Linked DNA regions of Homo sapiens: all the other regions are linked to region 3. Evidence: promoter capture Hi-C in human tissues and cell types (Jung and others, 2019). All regions are on one chromosome and are shown on one strand. The core of a region is centred on a gene start or on the middle of the fragment in contact, and the rest is flanking DNA. Distances in the headings are between cores, read along the strand shown. Region 1 overlaps ABHD12B (abhydrolase domain containing 12B). Region 2 overlaps TRIM9 (tripartite motif containing 9). Region 3 holds the start of PYGL (glycogen phosphorylase L).

Evidence for each region. Contacts are between HindIII fragments. The study calls those that stand out against the background at their distance.
Region 1: a fragment that was not itself captured here is called in contact with the fragment with the promoter of PYGL in region 3 in 1 of the 25 tissues and cell types used here (aorta).
Region 2: a fragment that was not itself captured here is called in contact with the fragment with the promoter of PYGL in region 3 in 2 of the 25 tissues and cell types used here (pancreas and psoas muscle).

The regions. Positions count from the first base shown.
Region 1 is chr14:50,900,251-50,903,990 of GRCh38, forward strand. It overlaps ABHD12B (abhydrolase domain containing 12B), which reads left to right. Exons shown (of 13, transcript NM_001206673.2): 10 at 1,579-1,661; 11 at 3,139-3,217. Among named protein-coding and RNA genes, the nearest start is that of ABHD12B, 30 kb to the left of the region's middle. The HindIII fragment of the contact is 6,626 bases long and covers 1-3,740 here.
Region 2 is chr14:50,992,139-50,995,778 of GRCh38, forward strand. All of the region lies in intron 7 of TRIM9 (tripartite motif containing 9), which reads right to left. Among named protein-coding and RNA genes, the nearest start is that of PYGL, 49 kb to the left of the region's middle. The HindIII fragment of the contact is 8,014 bases long and covers 1-3,640 here.
Region 3 is chr14:50,943,124-50,946,944 of GRCh38, forward strand. It overlaps PYGL (glycogen phosphorylase L), which reads right to left and starts at 1,360. Exons shown (of 20, transcript NM_002863.5): 1 at 1,038-1,360. The coding sequence starts at 1,280. LOC400212 (a long non-coding RNA gene) reads right to left here. Exons shown (of 4, transcript NR_170195.1): 4 at 3,167-3,341. RefSeq lists an enhancer at 188-711 and a silencer at 1,380-1,539. The HindIII fragment of the contact is 9,372 bases long and covers 1-3,821 here.

The DNA.
Region 1 (3,740 bases), core at 36-2,535, 43 kb before region 3:
AAATAAATAAAATAAGTAATATCTGAAATTCAATCATACTAAATGAAAATGACAGATAATAACAAAGTGTACGCCAGGGATATTTGCACAATAGACTCATTTTGTCTTTAGCAAATATTTATGAAGTGTCTATTATGTACCAGGAACTTTTCTAGTTTTTGAGGACACCACAGGGAATAAGAAAGTTGTGGTCCATTTACCTACGAAGTTCATATTGTTGATGGAGAAACAGATAGAAGATAAATACATTAAAAAAGAAATCCAATAGTGAGAAGTTCTGTGAAAGCACCAAAATAATGTGATGGAGAATGACTGGGTGGTGGGGGCAAGGTTTGGTAGCTGGTTATGGAAAACAGCTCCGAAGAAATAGCATCTGAGCTGAGACCTGCCTGAGATGAAGCCAGCTGATGGGAAAATATAGAGATCTCAGGCTGGGGTAAAAGTAAAGGCAAGCGCCTTGAGGTGGGATCAGGCCTGACATGTTCCAGAAGCAGAAGGCAGCAGAGCCAGGAGGTGGACAGGAAGGTGCTTAGTGATAGGAGATGAGGCTGGAGAGGGAGGCAGGAAGCCGCCGGATTCTTCAGGGCCTTGGAGGCCAAGGTGACATGTTCAGGTTTAATCCAATTGCCTTTGGAGGGTGTTAAGCGAAAGAGTGCTACGATCTGATTTGCACGTTAAAATAATCATTCTGGTTTTCCTGTGGGAACTGGATTATGGAAGGGTGAAGGCAGAATCGGGGAGCCACTTGGAATTGCAGCTTAGTATAAGCAAGAGATGAAGGGTGGCTTAGGCTAAGTGATAGTGGGGATGGGGAGAAATGAATGGGTTTAGGATATAGTTTTGGAGGCAGGATTCAAAGTTTGTGAGAAAGGTGCAATATTGCTCAGGATTTTTATCCTTTACTCCTTATTTCCAGATAAAACGGATATTTCTAGGGCATATAAACTAACTTACATGTTGACTATGTGAGTCAAAACATTGTAAAAGTGGATTTAGCTAGCATTCTATTTCTTGGATTTTGCTATTAAACAACAAATTTAGTATGTCTAGAGTGAGCATTGTTATATCTGGAATCCTGTGGTCATTGTTAAAAACTAAAATGTCTTTTAAGGCATTGGCATATTAAATCATATTCAAAAGTTTGTAATGTTCAAATTCTCTAAAATCAATTTTCTATGTATTGTATATTTTCATCAGAATTTTTGACTAATCAGAATATTCTGTCCACCAACTAAACCAGTTATGTTCACAATAGAAGCAATTTTAGGTTTTGCATACCACTGCTTCTACATGGAGAAGTAAGAGTTAGTTGTGCCATTTTTAGGAAGTGAAAACAAAATGTTAACAATGATGGTCTATGATGGCAGAATTATGTGTGCTTTGTTTCTTCTACATTCCTTTCTTTTTTTCCAAATTCCCGACGTGCATTACTTTTTAAATCGTAGAAGTTTTTTGTGAAGTTTACCTTACTTAGAGAAGCACTACTCTCTGTGTTACCCTGGTTCATAGTGAAAGACTATATAACAGATGGCATAGCTATGGGGCAAATATTAATTTTTTTTTCTTTTTTAAAAATAGATTTACCGGAACATTCCAGGATTTTTACGTACACTTATGGATGCCCTGAGAAAAGACAAAATAATCTTTCCTAATGATGAAAAGTAAGTTAATGATGAAAAGACATGCATTATTACTGTATCTAAAGGATTCTAGGGGCAACTATCATGTGACTTACTGGATGGTGACATGAGACATCCTGAATATCATTCTTATTCTTAGAATATTGTTCTGCGCTTCTTAGATGGGCACTAAGATTTGGGTAAAGTATCTATGAATTTTTAGTATTTGCTATTTTCCTCATGTCTAATTCAATGACTTCACCAATTCAGTACTCTCTCTGAATTCATAAACGAAGTTGTATATCTATAGCCTATCAAGACCTTTTAAAGGGCTTGGTAGTGTTAGCGTATGCCTATAATCCTAGCACTTTGGGAGGCTGAAGTGAGAGGATAGCTTGAGCCCAGAAGTTTGAAACCAGCCCGGGCAACACAGGGAGACACCATCTCTACCAAAAAATTTTAAAATTAGCCAGGCGTGGGGGCACGTGCCTGTCATCCCAACTACACGTGAGGCTGAAGTAGGAGGATCACTTGAGCCTGGGAGGTTGAGGTTGCAGTCAACTGTGATTGTGCCACTGCACTCCAGCCTGTGTGACAGAGTGACATCCTGTAAAACAAACAAACAAACAAAAAACCAGCCTAACATTTCTTGAGGCATCTCTGACTTCTAGGCCCTTTTCCCCATATAATGAAAACTCGTCTACCATCCACCTTACTAATGTGACAGCAAATCCAATGACTAGAATTTATCAAGTTAGCCTGTTACAGTTAGAGAATTTAAGAATGCTTCCAAATAGACAGTTGTCAATATATTTTTCTATGTCAACACACTTGAGAAAATCCAACATTCTCAGGGGTGTCAGTGAGTCACTGTGGCAGAGATGGATGGGTATCAGAATTTTGGGGGGACAGGGAAGCATTGCTTGAGAAAGTAACTAGAGTGGGAGACAAGACATTCTTCATGCCATAGCCCTTTTGAATTAGCAAACTAGGGGGTTGACCAGGAAGCTAATCAGACCTGTTAACTGCACGTCCATCCTCTACATTTATGGAGAAAAGTAAACAAATTGCTACAAAGAGGTCTCTGATTCTGTCATAGTTTTTGTTTTATTGAGGTTTTGAGTTTTGTTTTCTTTTTTAGTCTTTTAATAAAATATTTCAGATGTTACAAAATAGGTGGAGTAAAGAAGAATATAAGGTTCTTCTAACACTGTACAAAATCAGTGTTTCAGTGTTTTTTGTTTTTTTTTTTTAGTATTTCCAAAAATCATGCAGAAGTAAATTAATTAAACAGCCAGTTAAATTGCATGAGTAAATGGGAGAGAGGGAAACTTGCATGGAGAAAAAAAGCTACTATGTGAAATTTTTAAATGTATGATATTGTTATTCCTTGGAAGGAAGGAAAGAAATTTCTTGTAATTTAGACAGGCCTCATGTTTTGCTAAAGCTTTAACTTAGAAGAGGAGAAATCTCAATGTATCATTCTTTAACTGAATGCTTTTCTTCTACTTGTCCCTAGTGTTAAATTCCTTTCTTCTCCTCTTCTCATCTTACATGGAGAGGATGACAGGACAGTGCCTTTGGAGTATGGGAAAAAGGTAAACTAAGGGCTCAATGCTGACTGAAATATACTATACTCATTTCACCATTTTTTTCATTCAGCCAAACTTTGATTAGAGCCGAAAGGAGGGTCTCTGACATTATAGGAGATTCTCTACACCCCTAAATAGCCTCTATAGGTTTATAAAATGGGTATCAGCATCCTTGGCTACTTAGCTCAAAGGAGTGTTTGTGGCAGAGCCTGGCTCCTCATCTGGATTGTGTGGAGCTGCAAGTGTAGGGTATCCCAGGCTGCTGTGGGAACCTCCATGTCGTCTCTACTGTAGTGGCTCTAAAATGGAAGACGCAGACTTTTTCCTTTTAAACAAACTTCTACTAGAGTGGGTCCATAACAATTCCTTGGCATTTTGCAGGGAGGTTCAAGCAGGGAAGGATGAGGTTTTATCAGTATTCTATATTAGCTGAGCAGCATTCAGATCTTTAGCTGTAGAGACAGGCAACTGGGACATGGAGAGTTTTCTGTCTCTGACTTAATGGAACAAACTCCCCAAGTTAGCTGTT
Region 2 (3,640 bases), core at 570-3,069, 49 kb after region 3:
TTTGGCTAGAGGGATTAGATGGGCTGAGGTGTTCCCTGTAGTTGTTCTTCTGACAGGTTCTTTGTTCCTCACAAGGTGACAGCATTTCTGGAGGTCTCAGCACATCAGGGTGCAGTACTTATGCTGGACCAAAATCACTATTAAATATGAGCAAAGGAGCTGGGCACGGTGGCTCATGCCTGTAATCCCAGCACTTTGGGAGGTCAAGGCATGAGGATCGCTTGAGGCCGGGAGTTTGAGACCGGGCTGGGCAACATAGTGAGACCCTGTCTCTACGGAAAAAAAAAAAAGCCAGGTGTGGTGGCATGCCTATAGAGCCAGTTACTAGGGAGGCTGAGGCAGGAGGATCACTTGAGCCCAGGAGGTCAAGGTTACAGTGAGCCACGATCGTGACACTGCACTCCAGCTAGGTGACAGAGTGAGACTCTGTCTCTGGAAAGATAAATGAATGAATGAATGAATGAATAAATAAATAAGTAATTGCAAAAAGATTCTGGACAGATGCATCTGAGGCCAATTTGCATTCAGACAAATGGAAGCATAAGTTTATATTTTGTCTGCACCATTACATCTTTTCTGGGTGGTTTCCTTCAATGCACAGAAGAAGGAGCTACTACAATGAAAGGGGCAGCGTGATGCTGAGAGTCTAATCGGGGAGAAAGACATTTTAATCTTTATGAGTAACATTGTCTAGGCCCACTTTTTAGAAAGCAGTTTTTAAGATGTAGTTTCAAGAATCCCAACCTATTTGTCATTAGATAAAACAATCCTGAAAAATGCTGGGTAGATGGCTTGAGAGCCAGCCCTCTTTTCTCTAATTATCACTGACTACCTTCTCCCCATTTTCCCTCCCAGTTAGGACAGGCAGGGCTGGAAAGCTTCTGTGAATAAATGGCTCTGTGATGTCAACCCAAGCAGGGCTCTGAGTGCCAGACCTCATTTGGTAGTAACTTTCATTTGGTAGTATCAGAGCCTCAGAGATGTAGCTCTGATATTCCTTTTCCTTCCCGGGCAAATCTCGTCACTGCCAGCCAAGAGTATCCACTGGTACCAGTGGGGGAAGGGCCTCTCTAGGTGACCTGCTCACCTGGGATGGGAGGGAGCTGGAGGAAATTTCTGCAAAGACATGAAAATGAGCACAGGACCTGATAAAGAGTTTGGATATTATGCTGGAAATGATGGCCACTCCCACATCTTCTTAAAGCTGGAACGCTACTCTTTTCAACAAGACTCTTTTTTTTTTTTTTGAGATGGAGTTTCACTTTTGTTGCCCAGGCTGGAGTGGAATGGTGCAATCTCAGCTCACCGCAACCTCTGCCTCCCAGGTTCAAGTGATTCTCCTGCCTCAGCCTCCCAAGTAGCTGGGATTACAGGCGCCCGCCACCACACCCAGCTAATTTTGTATTTTTAGTAGAGACAGGGTTTCTCCATGTTGGTCAGGCTGGTCTCGAACTCTTGACCTCAGGAGATCTGCCCAACATGACTGCAAGTAGTAAAGTCCTCCTTCTGGCTGGGATTTCTGGATGAGCATATGAGGCAGCTACACAGCGCTGCTTCATTTTGACAAGGTGTTTTCAGTCACCTTGCAGACAGACTTTGGATAGTTTTCCCTCTCTTTCTTTCCATTTGGTTGAGGGCAAATAGCACTTTTCTAATGTTAGCACCACAGCGGACTGTGCTGAGCATTGGCGGCTTAAAGTCCTGGATCTGACATATTATTATACTTAACCTCTCAGCAGCTCAGTTTCCCATAAGTAGAGAAAGATGACAATAATAATACCTTCCTCATAAAGTATAGTACTAAGAATAATGGGCCATCTAAAAATGTCCACATCTGAATCCCCAGAACCTGTGAATATGTTATTATCCATGGCAAAAGGGACACTGCAGAGGTGATTACATTAAGGATCTTGAGATGGGGGGATTATACTGGATTATCCAGGTGGGCTCAAGGTAATCACAAGGATCCTTATCAAAGGCAGGTAGGGGCTACATGGTGGCTCATGCCTGTCATCCCAGTACTTTGGGAGGCCAAGGGAGGAGGATCACTTGAGGCCAGGAGTTTGAGACAAACCTGGGCAACACAGCAAGACCACATCTCTACAAAAAATTTAAAAAATTAGCCAGACATGGTGGCACATGCCTGTAGTCCTAACTACTCAGGAGGCTGAGGTGGGAGGATTCCTTGAGCCCAGGTGTAGGAGGCTGCAGTGAGCTATGATTGTGCCACTGCACTGCAGCCTGGGTGACAGAGTGTGACCTTGTCTCAAAAAAAAGGAAGGTAGAAAGGTCAGAAAGAGATTGGAAGATGCTACATGTCTGGCTTTGTAGCCACAAAGTCTATCTAAATAGACTAAATAGATAGACTTTGTCCTACAAAGTCAGATGTCTAGCCCCTACCTAAATAGACTTTGTAGGCAGAATCTACTTAGATAGGAAGAGGGAAACTAGAGAAAAATAAACAGAAAATGTCCTATCCTGTTCTCAGCCCTGTATGATTTTTTAAAACAGGAGTACAGCTTGTCTCACACATAGCATAAACCTTAGAACTCTGTGTATTAAGATGGCCTTGCTGTGTAATGTTTTCAACAGATACTCTTTTGCAGATGGTTTCAAAGACTGGCACAGCCATGATGGCTATTAGATGAATTAATTTAAAGATACCCATGACCAAGTTTTGGGGCTTGGGGGCCTTATTTGAAAATTTCATTAAAATTCTTAATTGCTTACAGTTATATTTCATCTTAAGTCAGTGTAATTTGGTTTAGATGTGCAACTGGCGTTTTTTCCATGGGTGTCTTTGATACATCTCCAGGAACTTTGCTTTCAGAGAACTATCCACACTTGGACTCATATAATAATGCATTCTCCTTTCCTTTTCTCTGTCTCTTTTTTTTAAGATGGGGTCTCACTATGTTGCCCAGGCAGGATTCAAACTCCTGGGCTCACAGGATCCTCCCGTCTCAACCTCCCAAGTATCTGGGATTACAGGCATGAGCTACGGCACCTGACTCCTTTCCTTTTCTCTTAATAGCATGTTCTTTATAATTTCCATTGAATTTAATTAATTTTTATTGCTTTCCTAATTCTCCTATAAAAATTTTATCTTCCTGCTAATCCCTTTTCCCTGTTTTTCAGTGTTTATCACAATGTGTAAAAATGGAACTATTTATATGTTTATTTCTCTAAGGCTTGTTTCCTTTTCTAGCTTGTAAACTCCAGGACAGTAGGGATAACGTCTGTTCAACACTCTATACCCACAGCCTAGCACACAGTGGTCACTTATCAAGCACTGCCCAATAAATAGACAGATAAATTTGCTTTCGAAGAAAAAACCAATCAAAATTTATAGTAATGTAGACATTTGATCTCCCCTGCATAACGTTACCTTTAGATCAGCAAAAGGTTTTGTGAAAGCTCACAGAGTACAAAAGATGAGCAATTTAAACCTCAGACTAAATGCATGTGATTACAAGTTAGACTTGTTACCGCATATGAAATTTTACCTTTCTGTGATACAGAATTTTTGTTTTGAAGTTTGAAAAGGGATTAACTCTTGCTAAGAAGAAGGTGAAAGATTTTGTTACACTAGAAAGCCAGAACGCACCACCCCACCACCCCCAATACCAGCAAAGAAAAA
Region 3 (3,821 bases), core at 110-2,609:
TTCTAATAAATGTTTATATATATTTCCCACTGCCCCTGGGATGTATCCCAATCTTTTATTCTTTCCAATATGTCTCTACCTGGCTTCTCCAGTTTCCTCTCCCAATACAGACTCACACCCGCCCTCACTCCAGCCTGCACACAATCCCTCTCCCTGCCATGTCCTCCCCAGTCCTTCCCCACTGCCTCTCGCCCTCTTCGCAAACTGTCAGGCAGAGATATTGTCCCTCTGTAGGTCCAAAATCACCCTAAGGAGGTCTCTGCTCCCGCCCCCACGCCGTGGATGGAGGTGGTCCCTGACCAGCCTTCCTCAGCAGCTCTGGGGGCAGGCCTCGGGTGTGGAAGGGCTAAGGGTCGGGGGAGTGTGTGTCTTCGGGGAGGACGAGTCCAGGGCATTGCCTGGCCCTGGGCCGCCTTTGCGAAAGACTCACGGAATTCCAGGAGCTACACCCACTCAGGAGAATGGGTGGGCGGCGCTCTACGCTTGGAGCGGGACCCTGCCCCTCCTCTGCACCACACTTAGCCACTCCCAGAGGCCTGAGACTTACGACCTTTTCCCAGCTCGGCGTTTGTCTCCCCTCCCAAAATACCAAGCTCCAGCAAGGCAAGATTTTTGTCCCTTTTGTTTAGGGCTGAGTGTCCAGGGCAGAGAATAGTGTCCGGCATACAGGACAAGAGGCCCCCGTCACCTCTTGATTAAATGCTGAGAGTCAAAGTTCCAAAAAAGTTTGTGAAGTGGACAGGCGAGAGGGGCCTGGGCTTTTGCCCACCTGGCGGTTTCCAGGGGCGGACGGCACAGTGGTTTGGGCGGGACACTGGCGGGTGGCACCTCGGAGACATGAGTTCGGCGTCTGTTGGGAGGCCTAATCTGTCCCCCAGGCTGCCCGCCCACAGCCTAGACACGTCTCCTCTGGACTTCGGGGCAAGGACCGGGTGCAAGGGACCACTCTGAGGGGTTCTCCACCTCGTCCCGCCCGGCCGCGGCCGGAGACTCCGACTCCGGGCTGGACCCCGGCCCGCCGTCCCGCCCCCGGTTACCTTGGGGCACTTGTCGTAGTAGTGCTGCTGCGTGCGGATCCAGCGCCCCACCAGGTGGTCGCGCACCGTGTGCGCCAGCGCGAAGTAGTAGTCGCGGGTGGTGGCCACGTTGCGGTCCTTGACCAGCGTGAAGTGCAGGTGCCGGTTGAAACTCTTCTTCAGCTCTGCCACGTTCTCCACGCCCACGATGCCGCGGATGCTGATCTGCCGCCGCTTCTCCTGGTCCGTCAGGGGCTTCGCCATGGCTGGGGCGGCGGGCTGCGCGGCGGGCTGCGCAGAGAGCTGGAAGTGCGGCCGGAGGCGCTGGGCTGCCGGGCAGGGGTGGAGTCCGCCCCGCCGCGCCAGCAGCTTTCAACGCGCACGAAAGTTTGGGGCCCGCCCCCTCGGGCGGTGCCGTCCCCGCTGCACTCCCACCGCGTCCCGGCCCCTGCCCCAGGCCGGAGGGCAGAGGAAGTGCCCGGCCCCTCCCGAGGCTCTGGGGCCGCAGTGGGCTCGGGGGTGGGAGACGAGGTCCAAGCGCCGGCGAGACCCCTGCCAGCCCGGGACCTGGGCTCGGAGGCTCCCTTCCGGATTTCCAAAATCTGCGGAGGCAGCATTTGTTCCGCCTCTCCCCTCTAGAGTGTGGAGACAGGAGGACGTCTGTGTAGGGAAGCACGTCGTTGGCAGACTGCTGTTTTGCCGATGTTTATTTGTTATGCCATTATGACTGTTAGGATTTCTCACCTGGAGTGGCTTCCGCCATAAGCGCCGGGATCTGGAAGGACGGCACGTTTGACTTCTGTTGTCCCAACCTCACTTGCCAGCCCTTGGCACCGCCCCAGCTTGGATCCTCAGGGCGCCTCTGTTATTTTCATTCATTTTTTTTGAGGACTCCAGGGTTCAGGTTTCTTAACTCCTGGACCAAAGTTCGCCCCGCTCGTAGCACCCTGTCTCTCATCCTTAGAGGTAGGTTACTAAGAATCAGAGTAGGTGAGGTGAAGCTCTAGGGTCATTATGCGGCAGGGGCTTTTACCTTAGGCTTCTTCGAATTACGTTTTAACTGCAGTGGAGGGTGTGGGGGGAGGAGAGGGAGAAAACAGAAGGGTATGTGTGTGGAAAATGAAGGGATTACTCACTGGACTAGTTGCCTTCTTTACAAAAAACAACCCAGTCTGTGTTACTGTGCGGTACAGGCTGATCTTTGCACCTCCACTTTGGGTGGTATTTGAATATGCGTGTTTATGTGTGCTTAAACCTTGGTAAAGGCAAACACTTGGCATTTTAGGATGTCAGAGGTTTTTTCTTCCTCATTAAGTAGTATTAATATATTATTTTAGAAACAGTCCATTGCCAGAATTAAGTTTTCTTTTTCCTTTTTCTTTTCTTTTTCTTTCTTCTTCTTCTTTTTTTTTTTTTTTTGAGACGGAGTCTCACTCTGTTGCCCAGGCTGGAGTGCAGTGGCGCGATCTCGGCTCACTGCAAGCTCCGCCTCCCGGGTTCACGCCATTCTCCTGCTTCAGCCTCCTGAATAGCTGGGACTACAGGCGCCCGCCACCTCGCATTTTTTATTTTTTATTTTTTTATTTTTAGTAGAGACAGGGTTTCACCATGTTAGCCAGGATGGTCTCTATCTCCTGACCTCGTGATCTGCCCGCCTCGGCCTCCCAAAGGGCTGGGATTACAGGCGTGAGCCACCGCGCCCGGCCAATAGTCACATATATTCTTCTAAGTTTATTTGTTTGTTGTTTTTTGAGACAGGGTCTCACTCTGTTACCCAGGCAGAGTGCAGTGGCGCGATCTGGGCTCACTGCAAGCTCCGCCTCCCGGGTTCACGCCATTCTCCCGCCTCAGCCTCCCGAGTAGCTGGGACTACAGGCGCCCGCCACCACGCCCGGCTAATTTTTTGTATTTTTAGTACAGATGGGGTTTCACCGTGTTAGCCAGGATGGTCTCGATCTCCTGACCTTGTGATCCGCCCTCCTCGGTCTCCCAAAGTGCTGGGATTACAGGCGTGAGCCACCGCGCCCGGCCAAGTTTTCTAGAAAAATCTTAGTATACTTATATTAATATATTTTGTTTTTTATAATAAACCCAAGTTGATTATTTTGAATTCACACATGGTGGTGGTGGGGGGGGGGGGGGGGGCGGGTAATGGATTAATTGATTCAGACCAAATGTGACCCTCACCATAAAAGTGAAAGTTCAAAGCTCATAGTTCTGACAAAATTTCCTGAATCCTTGTCCTCCCAGATTCTGAAGTTTGGACTTGAGCTTTTGGGGCAGAGACTGAATTGGGCCTTATGCAACTCTTGCAATACCGATGACCTGCAAAGGACAGTATGGAAGAGATGAGCATTAGAGTTTGGATCCGGATGGGGCCAGAAATACCCTGAATTAAGAGTGGGAAGGGGGGGCCCATCAAAATCATTGATCTTAAAAATAAGTAAGGCCTGTGGGGTGAAATTTGAAATAAAGCAGAAAGATAAGCTTCTTTGATTATTATATAACTTAAAAAAGTGTTTATCAGCTTTGAATACCCCCAAGATGGTCACAGCATTAAGCCAGTTATGGGTCATTCGTACATAAGTGTGAAATTAGTCACTCAGCTTTAACAGCTGGATGAAAAATAGGGTAGAGCCTAGGATGAGGGAATACCAGGTCTGAGTAGGTCTTCCTCCCAGAAAGGTCTCTGAGCAGGAGAAGGCATCATAATGTCTGGGCATTGGGGAGTGAATAATTAGGGGGCACACAAGAAGGGATGAAAGACACCAAAAGCAAGCTTACTCGGTTTCTTAGTTTTGCTTA